Regions from separate parts of the Homo sapiens genome. Here region 1 is linked to region 2. Evidence: promoter capture Hi-C in human tissues and cell types (Jung and others, 2019). All regions are on one chromosome and are shown on one strand. The core of a region is centred on a gene start or on the middle of the fragment in contact, and the rest is flanking DNA. Distances in the headings are between cores, read along the strand shown. Region 1 holds the start of GPRC5D-AS1 (GPRC5D and HEBP1 antisense RNA 1). Region 2 holds the start of GPRC5A (G protein-coupled receptor class C group 5 member A).

What was found. The method cuts DNA at HindIII sites, captures the fragments that hold promoters and counts their contacts. A contact is called where the count stands out against the background at its distance.
Region 1: a fragment that was not itself captured here is called in contact with the fragment with the promoter of GPRC5A in region 2 in 1 of the 25 tissues and cell types used here (aorta).

Annotation. Positions count from the first base shown.
Region 1 is chr12:12,922,560-12,928,847 of GRCh38, reverse strand. It overlaps GPRC5D-AS1 (GPRC5D and HEBP1 antisense RNA 1), which reads right to left and starts at 1,122. Exons shown (of 3, transcript NR_149067.1): 1 at 1,045-1,122. The HindIII fragment of the contact is 5,285 bases long and covers 593-5,877 here.
Region 2 is chr12:12,888,403-12,894,415 of GRCh38, reverse strand. It overlaps GPRC5A (G protein-coupled receptor class C group 5 member A), which reads right to left and starts at 2,854. Exons shown (of 4, transcript NM_003979.4): 1 at 2,752-2,854. The HindIII fragment of the contact is 16,829 bases long and covers 1-6,013 here.

The sequences.
Region 1 (6,288 bases), core at 1,986-4,485, 34 kb before region 2:
AATAAATTTTTTAGAAAGTACCCAAGAATGGTGGCACACACCCATAGTTCCAACTACTCGGGAGGCTGAGGTGGGAGAATTGATGGGGCTTGAGAGGTTGAGGCAACAGTGGGCCATGATGGTGCCACTGCACTTTAGCCTGGGCAACAGAGCAAGATGCTGTCTCAAAAAAAATTTTTTAAGCCCTCCCTTTCTTTCATCTTTCTTCCCTCTCAAAATACAAACAAACTATATATATGTGTGTGTGTGTGTGTGTATGTACATATATACATATATACATATATGTGTGTATATACACACATATACATATATGTATATATGTATATATTATATATACACATATATGTGTATATGTGTATATATGTATATATTATATATATACACATATATGTGTATATGTGTATATATGTATATATTATATATATACACATATGTGTATGTGTATATATGTATATATTATATATATACACATATATGTGTATGTGTATATATGTATATATTATATATATACACATATATGTGTATGTGTATATATGTATATATGTATATATATACACATGTATGTGTGTATATATGTATATATGTATATATATACACATGTATGTGTGTATATATGTATATATACACATATATGTGTATATATGTATATACACATATATGTGTATATATATATTGCCCAATTTGTTTGTACCCCATTGTCAACCCTCACAGATCCATGGCAGGGACACAGCAGCCACATAAGCCCAGGATCCAAAGCCTGATTGGAAACGGCTCCTCTCTTGCAGTAACGCAAGGTCGTAAAACAAACCAAACAGCCTGCTTTTATAAAATTTTGATATGTTGTTTATCATGGGCTTTTTGGTATTGATTTTGTTTTAAAAAATATTGTGGTAAGGCAGGAGTGACTGAGGCAAGTATTAGAGCAGGAATGAAAGTTTATTAAAAAGTTTTAGAGCAGGAATGAAAGGAAGTAAAGTACACTTGGAAGAGGCCAAGCGGGCGACTTGAGAGATCACCCACTGGACAGTCTGACCTTTGACTTACGGTTTTATACGCTGGCATGCTTCCGGAGTCTTGTGTTCCTTCTCCCCTGACTCTTCCCTTGGTGTAGGCTGTCCACACTTGCGCAGTGGCCTGCCAGCACCTGGGAGGGGAGCATGCGCAGTGTGTGGCCTGCCAGCACCTGGGAGGGGAGCATGCGCAGTGTGTGGCCTGCCAGCACCTGGGAGGGGAGCATGCGCAGTGTGTGGCCTGCCGGCACCTGGGAGGGGAGCATGCGCAGTGTGTGGCCTGCCAGCGCCTGGGAGGGGAGCATGCGCAGTGTGTTTGTACGCATGCAGGAGTTGTACACATGCTCACGTGAGGCGTTCTTCCCTTATCAGTCGAATGTCCCTAGAAGGTCATATACCAGTTAAACTCTGGCATTCTGCCTGTTAGTGCTCATGCTTGAGTACACTCGCCCAACTGCTAAGATCTTACCGGGAAGCTGCTTATCACCCGTTTCAGGTGTTTTCTATCTACTGGGAGCCTGTCTTTCCCTAGCACCGGCTGCGACCAATTATTATTTTAGAGCGACAGACTAACAGCCGCCTGACCATCACCTGATGGTCACCTGAGGTTCCTGCTATTGGAACAGACCCTCTCCTGCCCTGCTCATACCTGACAGCTACCTACTGTAACACACCTAGGCAGATAAAGATGAGATTGTGGAGTTCCAACAGAAGCAGACATTAGGGAATGAGCTGAAAGGTGGAGGTGGAAGTTGTTCAGGGAGATGAGATTGCGCGGGGTACGTAAGAAGAGAGCCTCAGTAGGCTTCGCGGTGGAGCAGGCTGTCCCATCTCCAGCGAAGCTCCCCCCATGCCTCTGTCTCCATATGGAGTTCCACTGTTAACCCTGGGCATCTCCAGCAAGATCCCTACGGGGAGAGGGAACGCATCTGAGTACTGTTTGCAGAACCACACACGACAGCTCTGAATGAATAAGCCAAGACAACACCCCGAGATTCTTCCTGCGGATTTGGGTTCCCAGGCCGGGAAGGAGCTGTTGGAGCCTGCATGGAAGATTAGTGGATCTGCAAAAAGACAATGTGGATGACTGGCCGACGCCTTGTCCCAACCCTGTCCAAGCAGAAGAATCGCCGGGATACTTGCTCTGGATACAAATTCTTGGACCCTGACTCAGACCAACTAAATCAGAACCTCTAGGAGGCCTCCAGACACTGCATTTTTAACAAATTCCCATGTGATTTTTAACGCAGTATAAGTTTAGGAAGCGCTGCTCTGTTGACAAGGAAAGGCTCTGGTCTGGTTTGTAGCAGACTGTCCAGGCTTTCCCAATTTGGTCCAAAAAGGCAGAAAGTGATTGGCTTGAGAGGGCAGAATCAATGGAAAAAGTTTATGAATTCCTGCCCCTGGGAACATTCGTCTTTCACTTTTCATCTTCTTCCCCACCCCCACCTCTTTGGGGTATAGTCTTCCCCATGCCCCAGTTCCACATCTGCTCTGACCTGGGGTTCCCACCCAGCCTCCATCCAGAACACGCTCACCCTGTTTTTGTAAGAGAAAACATTGTCAAAATCAGCTTATGCCTGAAAATTCAAGAAGATAAATTCCTCCTGAGCCCATTTGCTGGCATTCTCATCTGTTTCCAGTTTGGTGTATATCATCTGAAGGGTCCTTGTTCATCCATTTTGGTTCAAGTCAGTTTAGAAAAGAAATGCACTTTACACTGGGCACAGTGACTCACGCCTGTAATCCCAGCACTTTGGGAGGCTGAGGCGGGTGGATCACTTGAGGTCAGGAGTTTGAGACCAGCCTAGCCAACGTGGTGAAACCCCATCTCTACTAAAAATACAAAATTAGCCAGGCATGGTGGTGGGCACCTGAAGCTACTTGAAAAGCTGAGGCGGGAGAATCACTTGAACCCAGGAGGTGGAGGTTGCAGTCAGCCAAGATCATGCCACTGCACCTCAGCCTGCGTAACAGAGTGAAACTTCATCTCAAAAAAAATTTAAAAAAGAAAGAAAAGAAATGCGTTTGGAACACAATGCAATCGATCTTTGGAGAAAATCCATCTAAAATGCTTCTCTTATTGTTTTTGGGGGTTTTTTTTGTTTTGTTTTGCTTTGGGGTGTGCTTTTCTCTTTTCTCATATTTAAAGTTTGTTCTTGTGTGGTTCTCCTAGGAAACAGCACTTTCCCAAGCTTGACAAAGAAAAGCCTCAGGGAAATAAATTGGGATGTGATGAAATGTATTCAGCCCAAGAAGTAAAAAATTCCTTTCCTTTCTTCCAAGCCTCGGGCTTGTAAGTTGCTTTTATCACACTGGATTTAAGTGTTCTTATATGGAAACACACACAAAAATCTGATGGTTGATCAGCTGAAATTCATCAAAATTATTTGAAGACAAATTGGCATTCAAGACACCAGAATAGACAAGAGAAGAACCTGAGGGCTGTGTTCTCTGAGTGAAAGGACATCATTCTAATTAGCCTGTGACAAAAGAAAAAAAAATACCCTTCTCCCAAAAAGTTTATTCATTTTACCCATGTGTACAGGCACTGTCCTAGGCTCAGGGAATACTGAGAAAAACAGAACAAATTTCTGTCCTTCTAAAGCCTATATAATAGAGAAAAACACACAAACCAACAAATAAATCTAAATTCGAAATTTCAGTACCCTGAAGACTTACCACTATGGGAGCCCAGCATTAAACTGCCTGCTCTAGCCGGGCACGGTGGCTCACGCCTGTAATCCCAGCACTTTGGGAGGCTGAAGTGAGCAGATCAAGAGTTGGAGATCAGCCTGGCCAACATAGTGAAACCCCGTCTCTACTAAAAATACAAAATTAGCCGGGCATGGTGTACAGCCAAGTAGCTGTAATCCCAGCTACTCGGGAGGCTGAGGCAAGAGAATCTCTTGAACCTGGGAGGTGGAGGTTGCAGTGAGCTGAGATCGCGCCACTGCACTCCAGCCTGGGCAATAGAGAGTTCGTTTCAAAAAATAATAATAAAAAAAATTAAAAACTGCCTGCTTATATCTGGGCCAGCTTGTAGTCCCAGCTACTTGGGAGGCCGAGGAGGGATGACTGCTCGATCCCAGGAGTTCAAGATCAGCCTGGGCAACATAGTGAGAACCCATCTCTACAAAAGATAAAAGGTAAATAAAAATGAAAGATCGTGAAAATCAAGGTCACAGGGATGGATCACTCACCGTGAGTTAGGGACAGTTGGTGACATGCACTGCTTTTCAGCCACACAATCGGCAACCCTGTTTTGCTACTGCCTTGAATGGAAATGTGTTTTATTTGGCATGACAGTGTGCACATACACATACGGTGATAGGAGGCAAGGGCACTGGTTTCATCTCACGTGTAGAAATGACTCTCCATACCTTAGGCTTACGGCCAATTGGTGTATACAGGAGTGGACATGGATGTGGGTGGATGTGTGGGTGTGTCTGTACACACAGCCACCAGCCGGTACCCCACACATACCAGGAATTTCTGAGATTCTCACAGACTACTGAAGAAGATGTCTGGGGAGCATGAAAGCTTCTCCACAGCCAGCCATGGTGACTGACACCTGTAATCTCAGCACTTTGGGAGGCCAAGGCAGAAGGACTGCTTGAGCTTGGGAGTTCAAGACCAGCCTGGGCAACATAGAGAGAGCCCCCCCACCCCCGCCATCTCTATAAAAAATCAAAAAAAGCTAGGTGTGATGGTGCACACCTGTAGTCCAAGTTACTCAGAAGCCTAGGGCAGGTAGATTGCCCAGCCTGGGTGACAGGGCAAGACAAGAAAGAAAAGAAAGAAAAAGAAGAAAGAAAGAAAGAAAGAAAGAAAGAAAGAAAGAAAGAAAGAAAGAAAGAAAGAAAGAAAGAAAGAAAGAAAGAAAAAGAAAGAAGGAAGGAAGGAAGGAAGGAAGGAAGGAAGGAAGGAAGGAAGGAAGGAAAGGAAGGAAGGAAGGAAGGAAGGAAGGAGGGAGGGAAGAAAGAAAAGGAAGGAAGGAAGGAAGGAAGGAAGGAAGGAAGGAAGGAAAGAAAAGAAAAGAAAGAAAGAGAAAGAGAGAAAGAGAGAGAAAGAAAGAGAGAAAGAGAGAAAGAAAGAGAGAAAGAGAGAAAGAAAAGGAAAGAGAAGAGAGGCCGGGCACGGTGGCTCATGCCTGTAATCCCAGCACTTTGGGAGGCCGAGGCGGGCGGATCACAAGGTCAGGAGATTGGGACCAAGCTCGCTAATGCGGTGAAACCCCATCTGTACTAAAAGTACCAAAAGTTAGCCGGGCGTGGTGGCAGGCGCCTGTAGTCCCAGCTACTTGGGAGGCTGAGGCGGGAGAATGGTGTGAACCCAGGAGGCGGAGCTTGCAGTGAGCCCAGATCGCGCCACTGCACTCCAGCCTGGGCAACAAAGCGAGACTCCGTCAAGAAAGAAAAGAAAAGAGAAGAAAAGAAGGAGGGAGGGAGGGAGGGAAGGAAGGAAGGAGGGAGGGAGGGAAGGAGGGAAGGAAGGAAGGAAGGAAACCTCTCCATTATGCAGAATATATAAACAGCCATTTTTCTTTCTAAACTCTAGTTTTCTTTTAAAGTTAAATGCAACACCCATGCATGCAGACTGTAGCCCTGATGATCTGGGAAAAATATACAGGTACCAATTCATCAATTCATTGTTTCTGGCACTGCCGCCAGGTTTGTCAGAGAAAGGAAAGGACAGAGGACTTGGCCAGGGCCTTGGGGGCGGGGAGGGGACGGCCAACATAATCAAAAGAACCATCTCTGAGCATGCCGGGTTCTGTGCATTTAGCAGGCTGCTCCTCCTCACCTTGTCCCCCGTCTTTCATGAAGCCAGGGCGTTCTAGAAACGTAGAGGAAAAACTGGAATGACGTTCTATGATGAGGTCAAACCCATCTGCCCAATTTCACACACAGGTCTGACCCTTTGGGAATTGTAACAATATTTTCCTGAATTCCTGATTCTCTTTTTTTTTTTTTTTTTTTTTTGAGATGGAGTCTTGCTCTGTCACCCAGGCTGGATGGAGTGCAATGGCATGATCTCAGCTCACTGCAACCTCCACCTCCCTGGTTCAAGTGATTCTCCTGCCTGAGCCTCCTGAGTAGCTGGGATTCCAGGCGCATGCCACCACGCCTGGCTAATTTTTTGTATTTTTAATAGAGACAAGGTTTCACCATGTTGGTCAGGTTGGTCTCGAACTCCTGACCTCGTGATCTGCCCGCCTCGGCCTCCCACAGTGCTGGCATTACAGGTACGAGCCACTGCACCCGGCCAAATTCCT
Region 2 (6,013 bases), core at 1,605-4,104:
ATAACTGCTGAAAATACAAGGAGAACCCAAAGGCAATACTATAGTTGCATGAGACTTTCATACTTCTTTACCAGTCCTTGGCAGATAAAATATACAATATGAATAAGAACATGGTAAAATTGTGTAAATGTTCTATGGATACTTAAATAGAAATATTCTCTATCTTCATATCTTATTAGATCTCCATTACTAATCATATAATTCAGATCCTCTATATCAGTGATCAGCATAGATTTTCTATAAAGGGCCAGGTTATAAGCAATTTAAGACTCTGCAAGCCACACATTTGTAGCATGAAAGCAGCATAGATGATACATAAACATATGAGCATTGCTGTGTTTTAGTAAAATAGTGGATTACAGGTTGTGGCTCATGCCTATGATCCCAGCACTTTGGGAGGCCGAGGCAGGCAGATCACCTGAGGTCAGGAGTTTGAGACCAGTCTGGCCAACATGGTGAAACCCTGTCTCTACTAAAAATACAAAAATTACCCAGGCGTGGTAGCGGGCGCCTGTAATCCCAGCTACTTGGGAGCCTGAGGCAGGAGAATGGCTTGAAACCTTGAAACCGGGAGGCAGAGGTTTCAGTGAGCCGAGATCACGTCACTGCGCTCCAGCCTGGGCAAGAGCGAGACTCCATCTCAAAAAAACGAAAACAAAAACAAAACAAAACAAAACAAAAATCACTTTATTTACAGAAAGAGGCTATAGGCCATATTTGGTCCATGGACCATAGTTTGCCATCTCTACTCTATTATGATTGCTTAATAGGAACTATGGTCCATGGTCCAAATGGAACATTTGCCAAAAATGAGCATATTTAGAATACAAAGACAAATCTGGAATTAGAAAATAAGAAATGTGCAGACCATATAGTCTGACCACAGTGCAATAAAAATGAGAATAAAAGAAGCAAACACCCTGAACTACTCAGGAAGTCAAAGATTCCTCAAGCAAAAATACTCCTCAATTTATTGTTTACTATACCACCATATTAATTCCTCAGCTTAATCTTGGGACTTTAAATAGTAGTGGACCCAGAATGAGAAGAATAAAATCACGCCGTCAAAATTGTTCTTCATACCCTGTTGTCTTCGATTACCATTCAAGACTAGAATACAAAAAAGCCAGTTCTAAAGGGAACTTCCAAGGCGACGTGTGCAGATGGAGAGGGGCCAGAATCGAAACACAGGAGGGGAAACTGGGGGCCTCCCCAAGACCCCTATGAGGAACTCAGGCCCAGCCCCTTGCCTGATCACAGTTCCATGTTCCTGCGGAGCTGGGAGGAGAAATCAGTCTTCCTGACTCAAGGTTGAGAGCTCTTCCCGGGAAACCAAAGGGTTCTGCTCATTCCATTCTGCCCTTGAGGCACTCACCTCTCCACGCCCTTGGAGAGGTCCCTTGTTTCCCACGTAGCGCCTCTCCCGGCCCTTCCTTCCCCTCATTCCTTCCCTCACCTAGCAGACACCGGCATGCAAACCTGGAGGGTGTGTGCCCCCTCCGCCCTCACCCCTCCCGTGGTCCCTAGCCCATTGTGTCTGAAGTAGCTGAAGTGTTCCCCTTCAGGAATGAACCCACAGCAGTGGCTGATTCGGCCGAACCCTTCAACAGGTGTGGTGTTTACACAAGCCTCTGAGGAGACAATCAGGAATGGAAAGAAGTCAGGAATGGAAAGTCCTTCAAATTCCTTGATTCTGAGCAGGTTTCAGCTGTTAGCTAGCCTTTCCCATGGATGTTTAAAGCTATCTGTGGCCGGGCGCGGGGGCTCACACCTGTAATCCCAGCACTTTGGGAGGCTGAGGCGGGCAGATCACCTTAGGTCGGGAGTTTGAGACCAACCTGACCAACATGGGGAAACCCCGTCTCTACTAAAAATACAAAATTAACCAGGAGTGGTGGTGCATGCCTGTAATCCCAGCTACTCGGGAGTCTGAGGCAGGAGAATCGCTTGAACCCGGGAGGTGGAGGTCGCGGTGAGCTGAGATCGCAACATTGTACTCCAGCCTGGGCAACAAGAGTGAAACTCCATCTCAAAAAATAAAATAAAGCTATTTGCCAGCCTTCCCCATGGATGTTTAAGGGACCAGATGGAACAGCATCTATGCTATTCCCAAATCCTATCCATAAAGTCGGTAGTGGAAGGTGCACTCTCAGCGCACATTCAACTTTCATCTGTCCCAGGTTTCTGAGCAACTCAAGGCACACCAGAGTGGAACTGACCGCCCACACATCAAGAGAAAAGGGATGGGCTTCTAGATCTAATTCCCAAAACTCAGAAGGGCTTTTTGCAGCATCTGGGTAAAATAGTAGCTGTCACCGTGTCCTCCCTCCTGCCCCTGCCCCTTGTTTCCCACTCCCCCTCCACTCCCAGTACCTTCGGGTCCTCTGAGATCTTTCTCCCTCTATTCTTTTCCTGCAGAGTGATCCCAGAGCTGCTCACCTCCTGCCTGGCCGGATTCCATCTACTCAAAGTTTGTAGAATGTGTCCGAGCAGAAACTATTACCCTGATTATCTCTTTGCTCTCTGCCTCTATCTTAGCCTAGGAAACCCGCAAAGGGGAAAAAAAAAAAAAAAAATCTGAGTTGTTAAACTAGAGGAACTGTTTCCTAGGGAATTTTTTTCTCATAGCCAACTGTATTCCATTACCAGGATTTCTCTCCTCTTCTATCCCACCCCTCCCAACGCCCCGCTCTCCCCAGACGATTTAAATCCGGAGGCCCCAGCGCTCTGGGCTCCTGGCGCCTCACTTACCCTAGTGCCAAGGCGTTGGCCGTGAACTTGGTGCTGCTTCCCGCGCGCAAGAGGGCAGCAGGCGAGCTCCTCAGTGCTGGGGGAGACCTTGGACAGCTATCCCGCCCTCGCACTCTGAGCAGTTGTTATAAAGGCGGCCCTCGCCGGAGGGAGGGAACGAGCGAGGGGTGAGCAGAGGGACAAGGAGGGGGAGGGTCGAGGGAGAGGACACGCCTATTCCAGTTCCACGGCACTTCATGCTGTTATGAAAATAAAGTCCCCGTGCCAGGGAATGACCCAAAAACCGTCTGACGTCAGAGGCACAGTCACCCCTGGAAGCTGGGCGGGGGTGACCACCCGGCCCTGCCCAGCGCATCGGACTCCTCCGAGACGTGCTCACGCGCTGGTCCCAGGGCGCCGGCTACGAGAGGGGAGCCGGAGCAGACCAGCTCCTTACGGGCCCCGCCAGCTGTCACCTCCCGGGGGAGCCACACCCGCCTCCCCGCAGGCACTCGGGTCCACCCGGGGCAAGGGCCCAGCCCGCGAGATTGCAGCAGCTCCGCCGTCAAGTCCAGCGGGACAAGCCAGCCTTCCTCCACTTTCTTTGACCTTAGCTTAGCCTTTCTCTCCATCACTCTCCCCCAGCCACTGCCGTATGGGAAGCCAGGCTTCAGAAAAAGGAGGCAGCCACCTTCTCAGGGCTCCCCAGCCAAAGCCACGTGAAAGCCAAGGAAAACTTCCCCCACCAGGTCCGTAGTTAGCTCAGCAGCTCCACCTGTCAGAGTCTAGACAGGCACCATTAGTGCTGCCCTGGGGCTGAGAGATCAGTATCTCTCCTTTCCTAACTGCCTCTCCTAAAGCCTCGACAATGCAGGCTGATTGAACGGGGGCGCCAGATGAAATTATGAAATGAAGGAATTTGCTTTGGTGCCTGGTTTCCCCTCCCTCCACTGCCCACTCCTCTTCCAGGATCAAGCCAATCGGACCGAAACTCGTCTTTGTTTACGTGTGGAACGATCCTGGAGTGGCTGCCCGCCTGTGTCGGGGCTCAAGCCAGGTTCTACCCCATGCCACGGGGAGGCAGGAGGGACTCTGTTTTTAAAGTGGTTATCAGCGCGCTTGGTAAACTAATCTGGATTATTCTGCATATGAAGAAATGGGGGAAGGCCCAGGGCTCCCCAGCTTTCTCTTCACTTCTCCCCACACCCCAAGTCTCCAGAGCCTAAAGTGCTTTTAAAATGTGACCTACTGGAGACTGTGACCCCACCATTGTTAGGTTTTTATTTCACTCCCAAAAAACCACAGGCAGTGCCTTGAGTGTTGGAACACTTTGAGGTATGCAGCCCAGGGGTCTGTGAGTCCACCCATTTCACACCTAAGACTCCCAGGGGTGTGTGTGGCAGAGTGGGGGTGGGTACTGAGAGACTGGTGGGACTGCAAATGACAGTGCTTTATAGTGTGTGCCATCCGCTAAGTCAGGGCTTCTCTCCGGACCCCAGCGTTCTCGTCTGTTCAAGAAGTTGAACTAGACTACCATTGTACAATAGAACTATAATTCAAGCCACAAACATAAGCCACATTTGTTTTTTATTTTTTGTGTGTTTTTTCTTTTTTAGACAAGGTCTCGCCGTCACCCAGGCTGGAGTACAATGGCACAATCGGCTCACTGCAGCCTCAATCACCCAGGCTCAAGCTATCCTTCCACCTCAGCCTCCCAAGCACCCAGGACCACATGTGTGCATTACCACACCTGGCTAATTTTTTTGTTTGTTTCTTGTTTGAGACACTCTCACTTTGTCACCCAGGCTGGGGTGCAGTGATACCATCATGGCTCACTGTAAGCCTTTACCTCCCAGGCTCAAGCAGTCTTCCCGCCTCAGCCTCCCAAGTAATTCTTTTTATTATTTATAGAGACAAGGTCTCGCTGTGTTGCACATGCTGGTCTCAAACTCCTGGGTTCATGCCATCCTCCAGCCTTGGCCTTCCAAAGTGCTAGGATTACAGGTGGGAGCCACCACACCTGGCCCACATATGTCATGTTAAATTTCTAGCCACATTAAAAGAAGTACAAAGAAACAGGAAAATTAATTTTAATAACACTGTATATTTTTTACCCAAATATGATCCCAAATATGATCATTTCAACATGTAATCAATATTTTTAAAAATATTAAGGGGCTATTTTACTTCTTTGGTTTCCAACTATATCCTCAAAAACCCAGTGTGTCTTTTATATTTAAAGCACCTGTCAGTGTGGACCAGCCACATTTCCATTGCTCAAAAAGTGTGTGTGGCTTGTGGCTACCACACTGGATAGTGAGGACTAGTTGTCCCTGGTGGCTCTTCCAGCACGGAGTCTGAATCACCATGTCTAGGGTGAGTTTCATGACATCGAGCAAAAGACGTCAAGTCTGAGGATGGTGAAAGAACAAAGATGATGTGGTTTTGGGGATCCTACCCTATCTCTACACCCCCTCCCCAGGACCACATTCCCATTAGGTCCTCCTAATGAGAATGTGATGAGTGTATTTGATCTTTCCTTTGTTCACTGTTCTCTGGATGGTATCTGTCTGGCAGGTCCAGGGTGTGTGAGACAGAGAGCATGTGTGGGGATGCTTGTTCTGAACCTGTCTTCAGTCATTGCTCTTCACTTTGCTATTGGCTTTGTTTGTTGTTGTTGTTATTCTTAGAGACAGTGTTTCACTATGTTGCCCAGGCTGGAGTGCAATGGCTATTCACAGGCCACCATAGCTCACTACAGCCTCCAACTCCTGGGCTCAAGCCATCCTCCTGCCTCAGCCTCCTGAGTAGTGCCATTGACTTTGGATGTCCCACCTTGTCCTCTTAGTACTCTCTTTTCTACTCTCCTCTTAACCTCTTGGTCTCCTCCTATCCCTTTATGGAGACACCTGCCTGCACAAAGCCAGGACTAGATGAGGCCAATGAGGCAACCAGAGCACAGATTTCAAGGAGGCACTCCACAACTTTAAGAGTGAGTGCCCCTTTAAATCCTGAGCTCTAGTCCCCTTGCTTGCCTCTCCCAGTCCCGGCCCTGCACCTGTGTCCCTGGGGGCTGGCTCTCTGGAAGAAGACAGGGAGGACTAGGGCAGGTGGAATAGCTGAGTGATTCTGGGGTATCTGAGTGATTTTGAGATGCCCCAGAGGAGAAGAAGGACAGGACCAGTAGATGGAATCATTCACTTCCTAGGTCTCTCATCCTATTAAAATGGTCTGCAGACCAAGGTTGAGGGTTCTTGGGAATAAATGAAAGAAACAGTAGGAC